3 separate regions of the Homo sapiens genome follow, and regions 2 and 3 are each linked to region 1. Evidence: promoter capture Hi-C in 16 types of primary human blood cells and fetal thymus (Javierre and others, 2016). All regions are on one chromosome and are shown on one strand. The core of a region is centred on a gene start or on the middle of the fragment in contact, and the rest is flanking DNA. Distances in the headings are between cores, read along the strand shown. Region 1 holds the start of XKRX (XK related X-linked). Region 2 overlaps CENPI (centromere protein I). Region 3 overlaps TMEM35A (transmembrane protein 35A).

What was found. The method cuts DNA at HindIII sites, captures the fragments that hold promoters and counts their contacts. A CHiCAGO score of 5 or more calls a contact.
Region 2: a contact is called between a fragment that was not itself captured here and the fragment with the promoter of XKRX in region 1, in 1 of 17 cell types (total B cells). The highest score is 5.0, in total B cells.
Region 3: a contact is called between a fragment that was not itself captured here and the fragment with the promoter of XKRX in region 1, in 1 of 17 cell types (naive B cells). The highest score is 5.6, in naive B cells.

What each region holds. Positions count from the first base shown.
Region 1 is chrX:100,927,041-100,930,412 of GRCh38, forward strand. It overlaps XKRX (XK related X-linked), which reads right to left and starts at 1,877. Exons shown (of 3, transcript NM_212559.3): 1 at 930-1,877. The coding sequence starts at 1,264. RefSeq lists enhancers at 81-1,280, 2,474-2,523. The HindIII fragment of the contact is 22,335 bases long and covers 1-3,372 here.
Region 2 is chrX:101,102,925-101,106,296 of GRCh38, forward strand. The region is part of intron 4 of CENPI (centromere protein I); the gene reads left to right. Among named protein-coding and RNA genes, the nearest start is that of CENPI, 6.4 kb to the left of the region's middle. The HindIII fragment of the contact is 5,027 bases long and covers 1-3,372 here.
Region 3 is chrX:101,079,377-101,082,748 of GRCh38, forward strand. All of the region lies in intron 1 of TMEM35A (transmembrane protein 35A), which reads left to right. Among named protein-coding and RNA genes, the nearest start is that of TMEM35A, 2.2 kb to the left of the region's middle. The HindIII fragment of the contact is 152 bases long and covers 1,424-1,575 here.

The DNA of each region.
Region 1 (3,372 bases), core at 627-3,126:
TTTTATCCAATTTACAAAGCATCCAAAAGGTAGAGTCAAAATTACACACTCAGACCAGGCGCGGTGGCTCACTTTGGGAGGCTGAGGCAGGAAGATCACTTGAGCCCAGTCTACATAACGAGATCCCGTCTCTACAAAAAAAATTTTTTTTTTTTTGAGATGGAGTCTCACTCTATCGCCCAGGCTGGAGTGCAGTGGCACCGATCTTGGCTCACTGCAACCTCTACCTTCCGGGTTCAAGTGATTCTCCTGCCTCAGCCACCAGAGTAGCTGGGATTACAGATATGCGCCACCACACCCAGCTGATTTTTAGTAGAGACAGGGGTTTCACCATGTTGGCCAGCTGGTCTTGAACTCCTGACCTCAGGTGATCCACCCGCCTCAGCCTCCCAAAGTGCTGGGATTACAGGCATGAGCCACCACACCCGGCCTATAAAAATTTTTTTTTAATTAACCAGGCATGGTGACACATTCCTTTGGTCCCAGCTACTTGGAGGCTGAGGTGGGAGGTTCGCTTGATCCCAGGAGATCAAGGCTGCAGTGAGCCATGATCGCACCACTGCACTGTAGCCTGGGAGGCAGAGCAAGACCTTGTCTCAGAAAAAAAAAATTTTTTAAATAAAATTACACACTCTGCAGCTATGGCCTTCATGCACAGGGTGATCACGTCTTGTTGTTCCCATTCTAGTTTACACAGGCCAAATAGCATCGTTCATTGTTTTGGAACACAAGTACATACCACATGTTCATCATGGTGGCATTTAAGATTTCAGGTAAGTTTTCTGAATGGTAGACAGGGAAGCCGAGAGTGGGAGGAAATGAGAGAATTGATTAGAGCCATAGTATCCATCTTGTAAATCTTTCATCTTTCTCTGCCCAAGTCTGGGGTGGGGTTAGGGGGGTAAGGAAAAGATTTAAAAGTTGCTCACCTGATAACAGGTCCCAAGAGGATTAGATGCATAAATAATGATAGCGGTTTATCTTTGGCTAGATCTCTGTGGACAAAAATGAGGGTCAACTGGACCATAATGGATGAAAACATAAAGAAAGAAAAGGTGTATGTCATCCAGTAAGTTTCACTATTCTTTCGATAGATTCTAACCATGTACAAAGCAGATGCAGCCTCCCCACAGTACAAAAAGGTGGAGAAAAGGATGCTAAATGGAAAAGTAAATCGGGGGTTGGCTCCACGGATGACATCTTCCTCCAGAGATGAAACCGGATCCACATTTGGCTCCTCAGGAATTTCATAAACTCTGTCCATTGTCGAGGTTCTTTCTGAATGTTGTGGTCTTGTGTTCATAGCACCCTCCCACCCATCCCCAAGAGAACCCTATGGCCGCTACAGTCCAAGTATAGGTGAGGAGAGCTCTGTCAAGTCCAGTTTGGGAACAGAGATTCACTAGTTAGAGCAAGAAACCGCTCTCTTCTAGACTCAGATTCGACTTGGAGTCTGGGATGGAAAGCCCAGGAGTACCACTTTGAACTTGACTCTTGATTGGCCCCGATTCCAATCGTCAACATACTTGCTGTGAAACTTGAACAAGACAAAAGCAAGCATCCCAGCGCCCCATCCAGAGTCCAACTCCAGGGACGTGAAGAGTCATGAGAACAGCGGCTTCCGTGGCGGCTCCTTTCGCAGCCCCTCAGGCAGGGTGTAGCCGATCTGTCGGGGGCACCGACACTCAGCAGCTCCTCACAAAGAGTCCTGACCAGTGTGTCCTCTCAAGTCAGCGGAGAGCTGAGCCAGGGCAGAAGAGCGGGCGCAGAAGAAGGAGGGCAGAAGAGGGGATTCAGTTCAGTGCCTAGGTATCCTAGCTATTGCTAGGCTGTAGCTATCAGCTGGCCCGCTCACCTGCGCGCTCTCAGGACCTTTGCCGAGTCCAGGGTTCTCAGGATAGCTCCTCGGATTCCCCCAAGCCCCGCCCCCAAGACCGCCTGGCCCGGGAGTGGAGTATTGTCACCACCCTGTCTCCGAATGCAGTGTTGAGGGACAGAAGCAGAGCGCGCTCGCTCTACAGGATGAAGAAAAGGCTGGAGGGGCTGCTTCTCCTCGGAGAAACTTTGCTAGTGAGAGGCACGATGTGCGGGGCGCCAACCTGGCTGGACGGAGGTCGCCAAACTCTTGGACGCCGTCTGCTGCCAGGGTCCTGCCTGGTCTGCGATTCCAGCTGCGAGAGGTCGGCAGCTTCAAAAACTAAGGCACCGGGACGGCGGGGGCGGGCGAGATGGGCGGGACGGCTGCGGCCAAACAAAACCAGCCGGAGAGTTCCCGGGCAGGCGGCCAGCCGAGGGATGCTCGTTGTGGAGTGGCGGGACAAAAAGGGGCTTGGGCCGCTCTTCAGAAGCACTTCTGACCACCACCTCCAGACCCAGGCAGGAGCCACAGCTTTACTCCTCCCTAGGAGCAGCAGGCCCCCACTTCTACCCCGCCCTCCCTAACTAGTTAAGTGACTTGCTTCAACACTCACTCTACCCACGCTGTTAGGCAGGTGTGTCTCCCTCCGCCGCAGGGTGGAACCTCCCTAGGTCCTATTGCCCTCCAGATAATATCATGAAGGGGGAACCTGGGAGGAATAGGGTCAGAGTTTTCGGCGGAGGGAAGATAGAACAGGATAAAGGTCAAGACTCAAGGTCAGCCCACAGACACTGAAAGCTCATATTTTATGCCTTGATTTCTCCACTTGCAAAATGAGGCCAGGATAGGAGCTTTAGAATGAACTTACAGGTCTTTGGTTGAAAGGTTATGAAGAGGTGCCAAATTCTAAACAGACTGGCAAAGAGCCAAGAGAGAGCTGTTAGTAAAAACTGAGAGGGGTGTCTTAAAGAGCTTTGAAAATTACCTGTATTCTTAAGTGTAATCCTCCCCACCTCACTGAGCTTTTGTTTTCATATCTTCATTTGCATAATTCTAAACCTCAGAGAAAAAGAGAACACATCTGCCTCCTGGTAATAATATAGATGAAGGCCAGGCACAGTGGTTCACGCCTGTAATCCCAGCACTTTGGGAGGCTGAGGCAGGCAGATCACTTGAGGTCAGGAGTTCGAAACCAGCCTGGCCAACGTGGTGAAACCCCATCTCTACTAAAAATACAAAAATCAGCTGGTCGTGGTGGTGCGTGACTGTAATCCCAGCTACTCAGGAGGCTGAGGCAGGAGAAAAACTTGAACCCGGACGGCAGAGGTTGCAGTGAGCTGAGATCACGCCACTGCACTCCAGCCTGGGCAACAGAGCAAGATTACGTCTTAATAATAATAATAATAATAATAATAATAATAATAATAATGATGATTATGTAGCAGAGCCTGTGCCAATCTCCTTTTGCTGCAGGAAGTCAGTAAAACAAATCTATGTGAGGAGTGGCCAAGTAG
Region 2 (3,372 bases), core at 623-3,122, 180 kb after region 1:
CGTGATCCGCCTGCCTCGGCCTCCCAAAGTGCTGGGATTACAGGTGTGAGCCACCGTGCCTGGCCGAGGGGATTTTTTTTTCTTTTGGGAGACTGGGTCTCACTCCATCGCCCAGGCTGGAGTGCAGTGGCGCAATCTCAGCTCACTGCAACCTCCACTTTCCGGGTTCAAGCAGTTCTCTGCCTCAGCCTCCCGAGTAGCTGGGATTACAGGTGCCTGCCACCACGCCCGGCTAATGTTTTTGTATTTTTAGTAGAGACAGGGTTTCACCATCTTGGGCAGACTGGTCTTGAACTCCTGACCTCGTGATCCACCCGCCTCGGCCTCCCAAAGTGCTGGGATTACAGGTGTGAGCCACTGCGCCCAGCCTGGGATGCTTTTGTCATCACTTTGCTGTTAGTTTTTCCTTTTAGACTTTGTTTATTTATTTTTTTGAGACTGAGTTTTGCACTTGTTGCCCAGGCTGGAGTGCAGTGGTGCAATCTTGGCTCACTGCAACCTCTGCCTCCCAGGTTCAAGCGATTCTCCTGCCTCAGCCTCCTGAGTAGCTGGGATTACAGGCATGCGCCACCACGCCTGACTAGTTTTGTATTTTTAGTGGAGATGGGGTTTCTCCATGTTGGTCGGGTTGGTCTCGAACTCCCGACCTCAGGTGATCCGCCCACCTCGGCCTTCCAAAGTGCTGGGATTACAGGCGTGACCCACTGTGTCCGACCTTCCTTTTAGACTTTGAATTACATTGTTCATTGGAATTAGTTGCAGTTTTTTATGTTTACTGTTCTCTTCATAAGACCAATCTGTTAAGATTATAAAATGGGTTTTTTTGTGTGTGTGTTTGGGCCAAAAGTTTCTGTGTGCATATGCCAAAAATAACCAGTTACCATATATCATCACAGATAAAATGCAAAATACATACTTTTGTCACCAAATACATGAGAACCATTTTTTAGTATTTATCTTAAGAAGCATACGTAGTAATTTAAACAATGTTGCTGGAAGGCATCTTAAAAGATCACTTAGTCTACTTCATTACCTTCATTTTCTTTCTTTCTTTCTTTTTTTTTTTTTGAGATGAGTTTCACTCTTTCACCCAGGCTGGAATGCAATGGCATGATCTCGGCTCACTGCAACCTCTGCCTCCTGGGTTCAAGCGATTCTCCTGCCTCAGCTTTCTGAGTAGTTGGGCTTATCGGCATGTGCCACCACACCCAGCTAATTTTTGTATTTTTAGTAGAGACGGGGTTTCGCCATGTTGGCCAGGCTGGTCTCAAACTTCTGACCTCAGGTGATCCACCCGCCTTGGCCTCCCTAAGTGCTAGGATTACAGGCGTGAGCCAGTGTGCCCAGCTAAGATGCTTTTTCTTTTGTGCAAATATCTTTTCCTGTTCTAAATTCATTGGTGGTGGTTGGGATGGTTGGAAGAGGTTCTTAGAAATAACACCTGGTCAATATTTTATTTACTTGAACCTTTTAAGTTTTTCTCATTTAAATTCAGACTTGGAAGATATTTTAGACTCTAAACACTCTCATTTAAAGGTGAGGAAAAAGAGGCTCAGAGTAGTTAAAGAGACTTGCTTAAAGATGTCCAAACTCCCATTCTAGTGCTTATACTGTACCACATTGCTGCTTTTTTTCCTACTTAAAAAAAAGTTAAGGCTGGGTATAGTGGCTCATGCCTATAATCCCAGCACTTTGAGGGGCCAAGGCAGGATGATTGCTTGAAGCCAGATTTGAGACCAGCCTGGGCAACAAAGCGAAACCTTGTCTACAAAATGTTAAAAAAAAATTAGCTAGGTGCAGTGGCATGTGCCTGTAGTCCCAGCTACTTGGGAGTCTGAGGCAAGAGAATCACTTGAGCCCAGGAGTTTGAGCTATGATGGTGCCACTGTACTCCAGTGTGGGCCACAGAGCAAGACCCTGTCTCTGGGAAAAAAAAAAAAAAAGAAAAATTAAGACAGCTCTCAAAACCAAATGCTTTATATACTAAGTATTTCCTGGCTGTTGCATGTTAGATTCCTTTGTTTATACCCTAGCAGCATACTTGCAGGGGTGTGTGTGTATTTATTTTAAAGTAACAACACATTACTAACCGAATTCAACATATGACTGTCAAGTATTTTATTTCTCTATTTTTATCTGATTAGTTCTCTGTTTCCCTAGAAAGTTAAATTAGACCTAATAAAATTGGCTTTTTTCTTGTAGATGGTTTTAGATTATTTGGTTCTAATATCTTTCCAGGAATCCATGTTTAACTGAACAATGTCTGTCAAGATCAATTCTCCCACTCCCATCTCACCTTAAAACATATATGGAGTAGGGGCCGGGTGCAGTGGCTCACGCCTGTAACCCCAACACTTTGGGAGGCCGAGGTGGGCGGATCACGAGATCAGGAGATCGAGACCATCCTGGCTAACATGGTGAAACCCCGTCTCTCCTAAAAATACAAAAAATTAGCCGGGCGTGGTGTCGGGCGCCTGTAGTCGCAGCTACTTGGGAGGCTGAGGCAGGAGAATGGCGTGAACCCAGGAGGCGGAGCTTGCAGTGAGCCGAGGTCATGCCACTGCACTCAAGCCTGGGTGAAGAGCGAGACTCCATCTCAAAAAAACAAAACAAAAAAACAACATGTATGGAGTATACAGATGTTTTCTATTTTAGAAATTTTTTTTTCGTGACAGAGTCTCGCTGTGTTGTCCAGACTGCAGTGCAGTGGTATGATCATGGTTCACTGCAGCCTTGACCTTCTGGACTCAAGCAATCCTCCCATCTCAGACTCCCAAGTAGATGGGACTACAGGTGCGTGCCACTGCACCCAGCCTCCTTTTGATATCTCAGAAATTAATGATTAGGTTATCTTGATGTCTGCTAGGACTTGAGGTGTCTCAAAATGCATGCCTCAGACTCGGGAAACTTTTATATAGCAAGTTAAAAAATAATCTCTGGCTTTCTATTGTTACTTTTCATTTTTTTTTTCTGTTAAGCTGGAATTTGCTGAGGTCAAATGTGGCCTCCTTAATTCCTTTTCTCCCTTTTATTATAGTTATTTCTGTGATGTCCCCATCCCTACTAGATCTTTACATGCAGCTCTTTTGGTAAGTTGAGATGCATATTTAGAGGCAGGTATGGTAGAAATGTCATCATAATTAGGTACAAAGGGACTTTAGACTCTTTAAAAATTAAGTCACTTGGAAGTAAAAATAGAATTAATATTGAATTCTCCCTTTGAATTTGGTGCACATGTAATGTGTTGGTGGTGAGACTATTTTAAATTTCGAAGAGTTAGTGGATGGGAGTGAGAAAGAAAACAAGAAAAACAAGAAACCACAAGAGTGGAAAGCAGAGATTTTTATTTTTGTGATTCATTACCTATCATCA
Region 3 (3,372 bases), core at 250-2,749, 150 kb after region 1:
ACCAGAAGGCTGAGACCTGCGTAGCACCTGTCATTGGCAGGAGCCCTTCCCTCCTTCCAGCACACACCCAAAGTCCGGGCAACCAGTATACAAGTCTGATTCCCTCCCTGTGAGCTAAGAGTTTAGCAAGCGGAGAGTTTATTTATTTTAGAGCAGAACAAAAGGGAAAGAGGAAAAGAGCTGGGAAAAATGGGCTACTAAAACAAGCAATTTTTAGGGGCTGACTGGTATTCCTCATCCCAGGCAGACAGCTGATAGTATTCCTCCAGCCACCTGGGTATGTATCTGGATCCTTGAGACAAAGCATTCTTGGCCCAAATAAAGGTCACTAAGCTCTTGTTTCTTCCCCTTCTCTCAAGGGAGAGCTAGATGTTTTGTTTTATTTTGTTTTGTGTGTGGGGTAATCTACAAAATCTGCAAAGTCTGCTTTTTCTCTCCCGCAAACAGTCCGTAATCCCCACCTTGCCTTCTGTGGATGACCAGAGCCAGGCCCTCTGCAGGTTTTCCCCTCTGCAGAGTTGGAATCAATCACGGAAGGTGACTGGCCAAAACATCTCCTCTGCAACCTGGGGGCTGGGCTGCTTTCCCCAGTTGGGCGTGATGAGGACTTGCTCTTATGCTGTGGAGTACTAGGAGATGGCAGGGAATGTTTCCAGCACTTTCGGGTCTGTCCCTTCTTCCCCTGTCACTTTGCCTCTTCTTTTCCCCACCCCAGCTGCTTCTCGTCGCCTTTGCCAGACTTCCAATAATGGGAAGGAGCACATCATTGGGCTCTCAAGGTCAAGAGAGAAAGGAGCTTAGGGGAGGAACAGAAGGGGAAAGAGAAAAGAGGCAAGCCCTTTTAGGGCTGAGGCAGGGAGGAACAGCCTCACACATTGCGAGGAATTCATAGCTCTCCTGAACCCACTGCAGAGCTTTCCAGGGCCCCTTAACGTGAGCTGCAAATGGATGGAGACTGGCAAATTATATTAATAGATGCTCAGAAAATGTTTGCAGGCAGCTCTGGCTTCTGTCTCAGGGTTTAAGCTGGAGCTTTCCATTTCTTCCTCACCGCAGGATCACCCTAGGGTTGGGGAGGGTGACAAGGGCTTAGGTCTAGCCCCAGTGGCAAATCCTTACATGCTTCTCCTTCTCCCTTCCCCTCCTCCCAGCATGTTTGACCAGATGGAATTGAAATCAGGTCAAAATGAGTACCCGAGGCAGCCTGCACTGGGAGAAGAGGGACAGGGTGGGGTAGCAGAAGCCACCAAATGGCTTGAAGAGGTTGGGACAGAGGGACAGGGTGGAGGGGAAATGCCATTATATTTCTGTCTTGGTGGTAGCAGTTTGGTGTTAGATTATGAATAAATGAACATGCTCTTGCTTTACTTTTCATATGTACATATATTTATATATTTGTGTGTGTGCATCATAGGTATGTGTAAGCTTTCCCTAGCCTTAGGGACACACTACCTTTCTTCAGTATACTCCCTGCCCTCCAGACCCTAGTCAGCTGCTTCAGAGGCCCCCCCAAGCTGCACCCTAAGTACAGTGTTAGGCTCTGCAGGCAATCCAACTAAGATGGAGTCACCGGGAAGCTTCCTACCAGCTTAGCAGGAGCTCACAAGGAGGACCAGCCACAAATGGGTTTACAGTATGTTTCTTCCTAGAAATGGAGCTGTCTAGTGCAGCCTAATGAAAGGCAGAAGAAACAAATATGAAGATTTCATATCATACATAGGAACATATTTAAATAGATATAGTGTAACACAGCAATATAGAACCATTGTGTGTGGGTGTGTATGCACACTTCTGCACTTCTGTGCTAGGGGCATCTAGAGGGAATGGAAAGATTGTATCTAACTGAGAAGTAGACGTCACAATAGTTTGAAGAGGATTTTCAGACTGCCCTTTTCCAGGGTCCTCTCCTGCATTGAGCATCGGGCCATAGACTGGAGATTGCTCTCTGGCATAAAGCCTACTGCATAGTGCCTGGGCTTGGCCCAGCTTTATTCTCGTTCCCATAGGAAAGGGAGGGAAATTCAGTTCTAGTACAGAGAAGGTGCTCAATATGTATTTGTGGAGTGGTTGGGTGAATGAATGAGTCATTGTAGCATTGCCTTGGCTTGTTACCACCCTTCAGATTTCTCTGTTTGGCTCTTGATTATGCAGTTCAGGAGCCATTTCTTGCCTCTTAGAGGGACTCTCTAAGAAGCCCCTGTCTCTCAGAGGCAGAGTCTCTCAGAACCCCAACCCTAGATCAGCTGGGATGATTATCTGGGATTTTTTGTTTTCCATTAAGGAGTGGATTCCTCTGCATCGAGGAGGTTAGTCATGTATTGACTGCAGTGGCATTTCTTATAAGATCTCAAAGCGTTGTTGCTGCTGTTGTTGTTTTAAGATTATTTGTTCTTTAGAACATGTCTGTGAGGTAGATTTAGTGTATTCGTTATTTTTATTTTACTGATGGATAAACTAAAGCAGAACAAGTTTAATGACATATCCAAGGCCAGAAAGGTAAGCTGTTGTTGGAGCAGAGATGAGAAACCAAGTCCATGACTCAATACTCCCAATAGAAAGATCATTAATGGTTAAAACTGTTGGTTTTTATGGATGCCAGAACTGACAACCGATTCTTGAGAACACCTGGCACAGTCTTCCTCCTTTTATTGTACCAGTTTAACTGCCCAATGCATATTTTCAATTTTGTTTTACTACAAAATCAATTTTTAAAATTTAGATTTTTGATTTGATTTCTTTTTTCTTTTTCTTTCTTTCTTTTTTTTTTTTTTTTTTTTTTTGCTTTTCTGCCAACTATTTTTTTTCTTGTTTTAAAATCATTTGTGTAATTCTTAGGTGTTATCTTCTCCAGGGAGAATCATTGCTAAAAAACCAAACAAATGACTATGAACTTTTCTCCTGTTTCTACTGGAGAAGCCAGCAAGGGTTAGTGGAAAGAGTGCAGGCTTTATGGTCACACAGGCTTGGGTTCAGGTCCTGCTACTCTTGGTGTCTCAGTTTCTTTATTCTTAAAATGGGGATAAGAATGCCTACCACTTAAGAAACAGACCATCCTAAGGGCGGGGGGTGGGGGGAAGGAGTGCCTACCTTAGAAGGCTGTAAACATTAACTGAGATTATGTATAAAAGTGTCTGGTACAGTGTTTGCTATAGTATGTGTTCAAGAAATGCTTTGGGTGAGGTGATTATGATAAGTAATTCTGTTTTATGGAGTGGTTTCCTAACTGATTTAAATAGCTAGTTTAAGGGATTGAAATCAAGCATATATATATATTTATTTATTTATGAGACGGAGTTTTGCTCTTGTTGCCCAGGCTGGAGTGCAATGGTATGATCTTGGGTCACTGCAACCTCTGCCTCCCGGGTTCAAGCG